Regions from separate parts of the Homo sapiens genome. Here region 1 is linked to region 2. Evidence: promoter capture Hi-C in 16 types of primary human blood cells and fetal thymus (Javierre and others, 2016). All regions are on one chromosome and are shown on one strand. The core of a region is centred on a gene start or on the middle of the fragment in contact, and the rest is flanking DNA. Distances in the headings are between cores, read along the strand shown.

Region 1 (5,866 bases), core at 724-3,223, 590 kb before region 2:
TTATATTAATTTTTAAAAGTGGTAGCACAGGAAGACTGTAAGATTATTTATGATGGCCGGGTGCAGTGGCTCACGCCTGTAATCCCAGCTCTTTGGGAGGCCGAGGCGGGCAGATCACAACATCAGGAGATCGAGACCATCCTGGCTAACACGGTGAAACCCCGTCTCTACTAAAAAACACACAAAAAGTAGCCAGGCGTTGTGGCGGGCGCTTATAGTCCCAGCTACTTCGGAGGCTGAGGCAGGAGAATGGCGTGAACCCGGGAGGCGGAGCTTGCAGTGAGCCGAGATCGCGCCACTGCACTCCAGCCTGGGCGACAGAGTGAGACCCTGTCACCAAAATAAATAAATAAATAAATAAAAATAAAAATAAAAAAGATTATTTATGATATAGTGACTATTCAGAATGAAACATGCTAGCATACTCACGTTTTTGTAAACTTTGACTTTCATGCAACTTCCCCAAAATTCTCTCAAAAGTAAGTTTTCTGGGTTTTTAATAAAAATTATCAAAAGTATCTAAGATTCAAAACTTTGAAAGTATATAACTAAGCCTTCAAAATCAAATCAAATTTACCTAATGCTTTATTTTTCAATGGGTTTTGATAAACCAAGTTAAATATATTTGGAATACTTCAACTGTGCAATCTACAGTTTAATGTATTCAGAGACATTCTAGCTCAAATAAGTGCAGTCACTTGTCTTACTGTTCAATTAACATTCAAATTAACCATTTAAATTTCAACATATTTTGCTTTATTGATTATGTATTTTAAGACAACATAAAAATGAAAGAAAACATGCTTGATTTGGAGGCAATACATGCAAATTACCCATGGCAGTCAATATTGGTAATAGAGAAACTTAAAAAGCATCCAGTTGATTTCAAATAAATGTAGAATACTGCTATATAGTATACTTTGCATAAGTGGTATATACTGTTGGGAAGTAGGGGGAGCAAAAGAAGCTTATGTACATGGAGTTAACACACACGAAGAGCAGGTATAAAGAAATAGCTGCCCATTGTCCCATTTGATGGAAGTAGCCTTTTTCCCTAGAGAAGAAGCATTAAAGGAGAGTCAGTCTAACCAGGATTATTTGTGTGTTATCTGTTCTGAAAATAGCGCACTCAGGCAAGATGATCACCAAAACCTTTCCATAAATATAGTCTGCAATGCACCATTGTAAGCTGTCCCGTTTACTATTTTGACTCATATTAAATGCCAAGAGTATGTAAACACATGATCACTTATATTAATATCCATGCATAAGCTGCTTAAAAGATTTTAGTTCACAAAACTCAGATACGAAACTGCAATAAGTCTGAAAAGCAGTAAGGCAGGAGAGAAGGAGAGTAGCCAATTAAGAAATGGATAGAAAAAAAATGAAAATGCATAGTGAGAAGGGGTATTATACTGGCTAAATGTACAACCCCAGGTCATGGGGTTACCTGCACCAGAGAATTCCAGATGCTAGCCCTGGCTCATGCAGCACAGATGGCAGCCCAGTGGTGAAGAGCCTGCATCCGGCAGTCAGACTTCCTGGCTCCACATCCTGTCTCTGCCAGGTACTTGATGTATGGCTTTGGTCAAGTAAGTTAAACTCTCTCTGCCTCAGTTTCCTCATTTGAATAATGGAGATGAGCATCGTTCCTCCATTATAGGCTTGTTATGGAGACTAAAGCAGTTAATGATCATAAAGGTCTTAGAACTGTGGTGGGAACATAGTAAGCGCTATGTGTCTCCTAGCCGAATGACCATCCTGACCCCCTGGATTTTTTATTTATGCAATAAAGATAACAACACAGACCTCAAAAGGCACTTATAATCAAATTATTTGAGTTAATATTTGTACAGCATTGCCCACAGTGACCAAAATAGAGTAAACAAACAGTAAACAGTAACAGAATCAGTATTGCTTTAGTGAAGAAACAGCTAAGATTTAATAAACACCTACCATGCTGAGCACTTTACATTATTAATTCATTTTATCCGCTAACAACCATGTTTGAGGTAGATTTTATCATCATCTCTACTACAAAGATGGGAAATTGGAAACAGGTAAATAATAATGATAAATACTACTAGTCTGAGGAAAGCTACTAGAATTGAATAAAAAATTACTTATAAACCAAGGCAATCAACCTAATTAATTAGCCTTTGGACTTTTTCTCAGTTAATTCCCAATTTTGTGACTGAATTGGTCAAGATGATTTGCAGTGTTGGCACGTAATACATGGCCAATTGTTCTAGGAGATGTTCTTTATTTATTTATACATGTGAGAATTACTGAACACCTTGGCAGAGGCCACTAGCTAGTTGTCTTGGTGATACATATTTTTCTCCTTCTTCCTTGTTGAGTAATGAGATATTTAAGGTGGTAAAATGGCCACCCACAACACTAGATTTCCAAGTCTCCCTTGCAGCTAGAAGTATCATTGACTAATTTCTGGCTAATGAAATGTTGGCAGAAGGTTAAAATTATTCCTTAAATGCAAAGAATGAAGCTGGCTGGTACGAGTCTTTATCAGCAATTCTCCTTTCTTCTTCTTGCTTGCACTATGGACTTGATGGCTGATGTGCCATAGAATGTCTTGGACCAAGAGGTGACCTTGGGAAAATAGCCATGCACTATAAGGGCAATGAGGCAGAGATCCTGGTTCTCAGTGGTGATACATGGCGGCTTTAGACTACCTATGACCAGACTTCTACTACAGAGAAAAATGTACACTTCTGTCAGCTTTAAAATCACTGGAATTTTTGGACTTTGTTCCTAGCAGGTGAATACAATTCATGCTGATATGAGCAGCCATATGAACTGAACATCAAGGGCAAACAAGATACATTTGAAGAAAATAAGAATGCAAATAATTAAATGCAATAAAGCATTGCACATATTAGGTAATAAATAGCACAGGGTATAATGAGATTGCCCAGGAGAAAAGTGTTTATTCTGTCTGCATGGGTTTCTTAGAGGTGATGAAGCTTGAATTGAGTCTTGAAAAATGAGAAGGCATTTGATTCAAGAAGACAGGAGTGAAGCGACGGGCTGCAGCCATTCCAGGCACAGAGAACTCATGGGGAAAAAGTCACAGAGAGATATGAGTAATTAGATATTTCTGAATCAAACTGTTATTAGTCATTAGGGTCAAAAATATATAATTTCATACAGAACGGATGGCATATTTGATTGAATAAGACATTATAAAAATTATCTGGCTCATTTAAAGAAATCTACATATTCTTCTCCATGTAATATGCTTAAAAGTGGTTGACACTTAAGAAGGCAAAGAAAGGGGCTGGTGATGCGGCTTGCTATCACAGGCTCTCTCTCAAAATGTAGGTGCTCACTACCCCAGCTTGACCCTGTTACCGCGCACACTTGGTTGAGGTTAACAAAGCGCACTTGGAGAGAACTTTAAAGGCAACCTTTAGAAAAGCACAAATCTCCAATAAATTAATATTCTCCCATCATGATAAAAACACATAAAATATGCAAGATGGATTTTAATATTCATGACTCACATCTTTCAAAAGATTGGTGAGATATCAAATGTGATACGATAACAAAAAAGCACTTTGTAGAGGTGCTCAAAGTACTTTCAGCATTAATGAATTCTTATAATACCCTTGTAAGAAAGAATGGAGGCAGAGATTATTCACCATAACTTACAGATGAGATCGAGGTGGAAGGATGCTGTCAGAAGATCAGCTGGTGTAGGTTTATGGTGCTCCGAGCCTTCCTGGGAGCTGGCTTCCCTACAATGTCTGCAGTAGGTGCACACGAACTGTAGGACCTATGGTCACAGGCCCACCCCCAGGTCAACCTTTGGTTGTAGCTTCACCACTGCAGAGGGGGCATAATGACAGCTTACATAGTTGATTTCAGGAACTTTTGGTAGTTCTAATTGACTGCTGAGAATTGCACCAATTTTTAGCTTGGCATGAGCAAAAAGCAAACAGCTTGCTTGGGTTGCTAACCCTGACTGTAAAGCTTCGGCACAGTGGAAAGTCTCACACTGACAGGCCTTGGTGAGAGAACCACATTTGCTCCTTATCTAGTAACATTTAAGGCTACGGTGGAGTGAAACGACGAGGATGAACGTAAAAGGCCTAGTACATTAAGGGATGAGGAGCATAGCACCAACTCATCATTTTTAGTTCCCAGAACTTAATCAAGGATTCAGGCTTTCACACAGAACTCCCATTGGTCATTTCTTTTTAATCACTAATTATAAGAGAGATCACAGATTAAATTTCCAAAGAGGAAAAATCCCTGATGACTTCCTGTAGTCAAGGTATTCACTTCAACGCAATTTATTACGGAAATTGAACTCTTCTGATGATGATGGGTAAAAATAACCTTCAATTTCCCTTTTAGGTGTGTAGACATACAAGCAATCCCCACTTTTCTCAGCTTTGAATTTTGTTGCTCTCAGGGTTTAGCTGTTTAATAAAGACCTGGATGTCAACAGTTCGTACCAGTGTTCAAACAGATAAAGACAATACATTCAGAATAAGGATATGTAGAATAAAACACAGGGATTTCCCCAAATGGTGATTTGGGTGGTCTGGGGAAATTGTTCTTTTCCTGTAAGTAAGGACCATCTCATTATTTTGTGCTAAGCATAATGTCAGGCCCACTGTGCCTGGGAATATTTACACATTGGGGGGAATTATTGTTGCTAGTGGAGAGTCTTGCCTGCAAGTTGTCCAGGTTCTTGGTATTTTGAACAAAGAATTAGACAAATGCACAGCAAAGCAAGGAACAAATGAAGCAAAGAAAGCAGAGATTTATTGAAAGCAAAAGTACACTCCACAGTGTGGGAGTGGGTGAAGCAGCAGCTCAAGGGCCCCAGATAACAGAATCTTTTTGGGTCCAAATACCCCCAGAGGTTTCCCATTGGCCACTTGGTGGACATCTCATGTAAATACAGTGTTGGCCCGCAATCAGCATCCAGGTCAGCTTGGCTGCAGAAAGCAACCAATCAGGCTGAAGTGAAGTTACAAAGGTCATACTCCTAAACAAACATCTGATGGGCGGCGAAAAGCAACCAATCAGAGGCTAAAGTTACAAAGTTGCACTTCTATGCAAATGAAGACTTGGCCTGTAATCAGTCTGACTGGTTGCAGACAGCACCAATCAGAGGCTGAAGTGAAGATACAAAGTGACACTACTATGCAAACGTACTTTCAATTTCCCATCTGCCACACAGAAAAGGTTGGGGTTTGCAAAGGGAGTAGCCTATGGTCCTTTTGTTACTCAGGTGTGGAATGTTGGGGTTTTTGTTTCAATTTAGTTCTAGGAAGTCAGTGTGAAACGGCCTTAGGATCCCTGCCTCCAGACCCTATTCTCCCAACTGATTATCTCTTTTTCTATATAGCACCCACGTAGCCATCCAGCAAACATATGCTAAAGATAGTAGACTAGAGATGGACAGTCTGGCCCATGACGATGTCATTGAACAATTTAGTTATCCAACTCCAAAGCCTCTCTACCTCTGAACTCAGTTTATAATCTTTTGCATTTTTGGGGGTAATATCCAGGTTTGTTCAAGTGTGCTGTAAATTTTATGTTAACAAAACCTACCTTCCCTTTGGAAATCATGTAAGAAAACTAAAAATAAATGTTTAGTAAATATATATATATATCGATAGATAGATAGATATACTAAACATATATATATACGTATGTATATATACACATTATATATATATAAATTTTTTTTTTCTGAGACCGTCTTGCTCAGTCACGCAAGCAGGAATGCAGTTGCACCATCTCAGCTCACTGCAAGTTCCACCTCCCAGGTTCAAGTGATTCTCCCATCTCAGCCTCCCAAGTAGCTGGGACTACAGGCATGCACCAT
Region 2 (6,275 bases), core at 1,172-3,671:
AGTTTGAGACCAGCCTGGGCAACATTATGAAACTCCATCTCTACAAAAACTATAACAAAAAATTGGCAGGCATGGTGGCACACACCTGTAGTCACAGCTACTCAGGAGGCTGAGATGGGAGGATCACTTGAGCCCAGGAGTTGGAGGCTGCAGTGAGCTGTGATGGTGCCACTGCACTCCGGCCTGGGTGACAGAGACAGAACCTGTCTCAAAAAGAGGAAAAAAAAAAAAAAAAGACGTGTGTCTAATTTCAGAATTAGGCAATGCAACTAGTTGAATATTTTATTGCACATTGTCCATGATCTTATATGTAAGGCACATTTCCTAGGGAAAGCAGGCATGGATTTAATCATTTATGTTGTACTGCACACTTATTTGCACTATGTAAAACCATGGCTGGAGTGAGAGAAATAACACTTTTAAAAACCAACCTTATATTCTCCATGTCATTACCAGTAATTGATAACTGTTTAATCATCAACTCCAAAGATATTTCTTCCTTATTGGAAGAATTCCAGATAAAACTAAACAGAACTGTCCAAACACATTTCATCCTAATAAAGTTATTTATATAATCACTTATTAGGTCATAACTTATAACTGAGTAATGTTCTTTAGATCTTAAGTGCTTGTCTTTATATAGCTTTACAATAAATTTGTTTCTCTTAAAATTATCTGTGCACTAGATTAAGTTAAATTAAAATAAAATGTATTTAACTGTCTTCAAAATAAGGTATAGGCTATTTTCTTCCTGTAGACTGACAGCACAGATATTGGAAAATCTCTTCTACTTGGTTTTCTGATTCAGTTCAAACTTGTGCTTGCAAGTGAATCTTACGTAAATGTCACCTAAAAAGAGCTCAAGAAGACTCATAAAAAATATTTTTTTCGTAATTTGATTAACTTTCAAGTCATTCACCAAAAGTCAGACCATGCTAGAAAGGGAAGAAAAGTTGGACAACATTCTTGTTTTACCACAAAGACCATGCCAGTTAGCTGGCTTGATTCTCCCACTGATGGGGAGAATGTTTACATTTTAACAATAACTTCACAAATAAACAGATGTAAGAAGTGTTTTCAGTGCATAAAGATCATATACTTTATAAATCCACCTCTCATCTTTCTTCTGGACAGACCACATCTGACTTCGAACGTACTTACTGCAATCAAAAGTGTTTTGTAAAGGACCCTCCTCAGGAATAAACAAGCTCACTAAACCCTCCATACATAACCTGGAGAAACCTCCACAATAATGAAACCCCATCTAGCACTGTTTTTCAAACATATGGTGCATTTCCATTAATTTTCAGGGATAGCCCCTAAAGTAACTTTTGGCTCAACAACCCTGGAAGAGAGGACCTTTGCTCATCTTACACATCAAGTGTTCATGAACAACTCTGATGCCACTAAGTTTCGTTCACAAACTTGCACCTCGGTCGTTCTTTTACAAAAAAAAAAAAGAAAGGTTATTTTGCAAAAGGCAATAGATTTAATCTTGGCTACTATTTACTCTTAATGTTTCTTTCATCTCAGCCCTCCAATGAGAAGTTTAAAAGGAAACATCCGAGGGAGCAAGTTTAGATCTATCTGGAGGAGTTTCTGTGGAGCCAGCCACCCTCACCAGGTGCCTTCCATTAGAGTTTAATGCTTTGCTGCGGTTTCCTGAAAGAGCCCCACAGAGAGTGGGTCTCGATGGGTCCTGAACCGCACCACAACCGGCCAGTGAGGTGAGGGGCGAAGGTGAGGGGCGGCGGCGGGGCGAAGGTGAGGGGCGGCGGCGGGGAGAAGGCTTCGGGACCCCACACGGTCCGGGGGACCGCGAACGAGGAGCGGGGGTGCGGGGCCGCCTGGCGTCCCCGTCGAGGCGGTCTTCATGAGAACGCTCAGAGCAGGGGCGGGCAGGCGAGGGCTTCGAACGCACACACTGGGGCCCCGGACCCGCGTCGCTGAGCTGGGGAGCCCGGCGGCGCGGGCCGGGGACGGCACGGGCACTTTGGCCCCGTCATTGACAGTTGGCACCGGGGGTCCTGGTCGGCCGAGGCGGGGCGTGGCGCCATACCGGGGCGTGGGGCGGCGCAGAGAGGCTGTACCTGGCAGGTACCCACGTACCTATCATGGTCACTGGGTAGGTGGCGGCTGCGGGCCAGGAACAGGCCCATGCGCGCAGCGGCGCCAGCCGCGCCTCCCACCAGCGGCTCTCCTGGGTTAAATCCTCCAGGCCTCCCCGCCCCCGCGCCCGGCCCTAGGAATGCGCACGCGCGGAGGGCGCGGCCCAGGGCCTGCTGGGAGTCGTAGTTCTAACGCGTAGTTTCTCCTCACGCCTCCTGCCCCCAGCCCCCCACCGCCGCCCTTTCCGGCTTCAGGCCCAGCAATCTTACGTCACCGGGGGGCGGGGCTATGCGCCCGCCGTGTTGACCAGTCGCTTAGCAACCGGGAGGCTTACCTTTGGAAGCTTGTTGCAGCTCTAGCCAAGGTCCTGCCCTCTTCCCGCCCCGCCCCTAGGGTCCAGCTCCCTTCACCTAGGAGCTGCCAAACATCTGGATCAACCTGGGCACTACGAGGGGTTGAATTTCTACCATTATCGCGCCTTTTGATATTTTTTTCCAGACCTCCTGCTCACATCCGTAAAGCCCACTGATTCTTTTACTACACTTTTTATGAGAACAAGACATTTTCTAGGAAGATGGTGGCAGAAAAAGAGACCCTGAGCTTAAACAAATGCCCAGACAAGATGCCGAAGAGGACCAAGCTGCTGGCACAACAGCCGCTCCCGGTGCACCAGCCTCACTCTCTGGTTTCTGAGGGTTTCACAGTCAAAGCCATGATGAAAAACTCAGTCGTAAGTGATCTTCCTGAATTAAATGCACTCGCTCTGAATCAGGGGACACGAGATTTACAGAGGTTGGCCAGCCTTAGGATGGACTCTGAGCCATGTCCTGGGTGGTCTTTGCCAAAAAAGGCAGTTACTTGGCAAGTAGCAAACGGTGCCCCACAGTGTGTGGGGGGCAGGCTAGGTTGTTAGAATCTTGGGCAAGTGATGTACTCTGCCCATTTATAAGCACCTTCCTGATAACTTATGGTTTCTGGACCGCCCAAAATTACTCTTAAGCTATTTACACGAGGAAAAAAGATCCCCTTTACTTACTAATTCCTAACTAGCCCCACTCAGCAAAGGGCCTTATAGAAGGTGAGTTCTTAGAAATCATAAACTCTTGCAAAATTTAACATGAGCTGATATACAACCGGGAACATAAACTCATGAAATAATCTATAATGAGAAATTTCTTCACTTCAACCTAGGAAATTTTAGAATATCCTAGCATTTGCTCTAACAACACTTGTCTCTTACAAAATGATGTCATCTTCTTAGAGTACTGAAAGCCAACTTAATATGAACACTGTTTCCTGACAGGCCTTTTAAGATGATGTGCTTTAAACAATACAAGCTTTAGCTCATATATCTCTGCTACTAATACAATTCATATTTCATCTCTATTATTTGTAGTAATAAAAATAAAATATTCTAAGTATCATTAGAGAAAAAAGATTAAAAATATATACAAATATTTTAGCTGTCTGCATGATAGTATATATTTTTTAAACCTTCCTATTTGTTAAATAGCTTTACACTTGGTATGCTAAGACAGATTTTGCTACTGAGTAAGCAACTGTCTGGGAATGAGGCATTAAATAATAAATGCATCTTTCAAATTTGTGTAATTTACACCCTGGGAAGATCTGAGTTATTACATGGCAATTCATTATGTTAAATGAATAGTGTTGTTTTCCAGTGTCACATTATTTCCTTTGCTTATAGGTTGCAAACCTGATAACTTATTCCTAAACGACATACTTAAAATACATGAATGAAACAGATTACCTATAGACCTCTAGGCCAGGTTCCCATGTGGCTATGCAAAACGATATCCTAATTATTGGGAAGTGTGTCAGGTGATTTACAGTAGTTAAAATTCTTGGAAATGGACTAAAATTCTGCTTGTTGTAACTAATTCTTTTTCATGGAATTTCACATAAATTGGTTCTCCTAGGAGTCAAGATGATGCATTTATCAGCAATACCATAACCATTCAGGTTAATCATTTAGTTTTTCTTCTACACAATATTTACAATTTTGATGTTTTTTAATGTTATACTTTAATTTTTTTTTTACTGGTTGGGGTTCTTTTCTGTTTTTTCCTAAACCTGTATTCATAATTCTTGTATCATATTAATTCTTTAATATAATCTTACACCTAAAGAGATAGTTCTGCAAAATCTGATGTTTCTGTATTGCCAAATGTAATAAGTATGCCTACATGACTTAAAAAAAACATTGATTATGAAGCAGGCTTCTTTATAAACAACTTAATTGAGATCCATTATCTTCTCTTTTTATGTTCTAAAGGAAAATCTTGTACTAGCAATACCTCTCTTGCCATTGGAAATCGTAATTCTTAAATGCAAACATTATTTATCCATTCATCTATTTATTCAGTCAACAACTGTCTCTCTTTTTTTTTTTTTTAATACCCAGTGTTTGCTAAGCACAGTTCTGGGGATTTGGGATCAGCAAAGCAAAGTCCCTGCCCTTAGTACTCCGAGGAAAACCAAAATAACAACATTCAAATCTTGATAAAAGAAGGCTGGACAATACCGTTTATACAAAATAACTTCAGTGGTACAGGAAATAAAAATTTTCAATTTCATAACCAATATTTACATTTCACCATTTTTATCTTTAGCAGTATAGACTTCTCAGCATTATAAGGTGAAAATGTCCTCATCTCTTTCTGAAGGTGTATTTTGATTCAGGACGTGTATGCCAATTTCCAGCTTTTCTTAATTGCAACCTCATGCTCCAAGAGCCAACACCCTCCAAACCACTTTTCCAGTTAGATAAGTCAACATTCCAATGCTCTTCCACCTAAAACATGAAGAACTGTATATATCATAAGGAGTTATACAGAGACTCCTGATATTTCTCTGAGTGCGATAGTGATACAAGTACATAAACTTGATAATAAATATGTTTCATCAAATGGGCTGTGCAAGCAGAAATGCTTATTTAAACAATCTGGATATGAGAGTGCAAGATTATTGAAAAAATAATGATAAATGTAAATGGCAAAATTTTTAAAATCTCAATGTCAAATATTTTTCTTCAATAGAAACTAGACTTTCTTTCCATGAAATTTTTGTTGCATTCTATAAGAAAACAAGCATCACAAAAGCCCTGCAATGAAATAATATTCAAATTCACATTTTTATAGTGCTTGCCTATAAAGAGATATGAGATACACAACTTGAAGATTTCATAGTTCATTTTCCTTTAAAAGTCTTGTTTGGGGTGTGATAGAGCCCATGACCAGAAACTAGTAACCCAGTATTTTGTTGTCTTTATCTTGTCAGATACTTTCTGTGCTGAACAAGCTTATCACGAAGCAAGTTAGAAAATCGACCCAGGGTTATGGTGACAGAGAAGTTGAGTTCAGCCTAAGCTTTCTATTACAGCTTTCCTTCTCAAAAGACTATAGATGCTTTATGCTCAAAGTTTAGGGGAATGGAATAAATAATTTTTTTAATATTAAAGGTTGAGTATTCCTATTCCAAAAGTCTGAAACCTGAAGTGGTCCAAAATACAAAACTTTTTGAGTGTTGACATTACACTCAAAGAAAACTCTTTTGAGCATTTTGGATTTCAGATTTTCAGAACTGGCGTGACCATCAGTATATAATACAGATATAGTCAGCTCTTTGTACAGATTCTGCCTCCATGGATTCAACTAACCTTGGATTGAAATGTTTGGGATAAAAATTTTATCTGTATTGAACATGTACAGACTTTTTTTTTTGAGTCATTATTCCCTAAACAATAGAGCATAGCAACTATTTATGGAGCATTTATATTGTTTTAGATATTATAAGTAATATAGACATGATTTAAAGTATATAGGTAGAAATGTGTAGGTTACATACAAATACTACGCCATGTTATATCAGGGACTTGAGCATCTGAAGATTTTGGTATCTGCAGGAGGTCCTGGAAACAATTCCTCATGGAGACTGAGGGATGACTGTATTCCAAATTTGAACAAAAAACAAAAACAAATCCAAAACACTTCTGGTCCCAAGCATTTCAGATAAGGGATAGTTCAACCTATACTTTACATGTATAGTGTGTTTTATATTTACCAATCATGTGCTCATTTAACACGTAGTGGTAATCATCAATATTTATAAATTATATATTAAAATATTAATTTGGCTTCTGTAAC

The links. The method cuts DNA at HindIII sites, captures the fragments that hold promoters and counts their contacts. A CHiCAGO score of 5 or more calls a contact.
Region 1: a contact is called between a fragment that was not itself captured here and the fragment with the promoter of PACRG in region 2, in 1 of 17 cell types (M2 macrophages). The highest score is 6.4, in M2 macrophages.

What each region holds. Positions count from the first base shown.
Region 1 is chr6:162,140,793-162,146,658 of GRCh38, forward strand. All of the region lies in intron 4 of PRKN (parkin RBR E3 ubiquitin protein ligase), which reads right to left. Among named protein-coding and RNA genes, the nearest start is that of LNCR-SMAL, 91 kb to the right of the region's middle. The HindIII fragment of the contact is 2,017 bases long and covers 966-2,982 here.
Region 2 is chr6:162,725,553-162,731,827 of GRCh38, forward strand. PACRG (parkin coregulated) reads left to right here and starts at 2,422. Exons shown (of 5, transcript NM_001080379.2): 1 at 2,422-2,839. The coding sequence starts at 2,684. PRKN (parkin RBR E3 ubiquitin protein ligase) reads right to left here and starts at 2,214. Exons shown (of 12, transcript NM_004562.3): 1 at 2,110-2,214. The coding sequence starts at 2,116. RefSeq lists silencers at 1,792-2,331, 1,821-2,042. The HindIII fragment of the contact is 2,767 bases long and covers 1-2,450 here.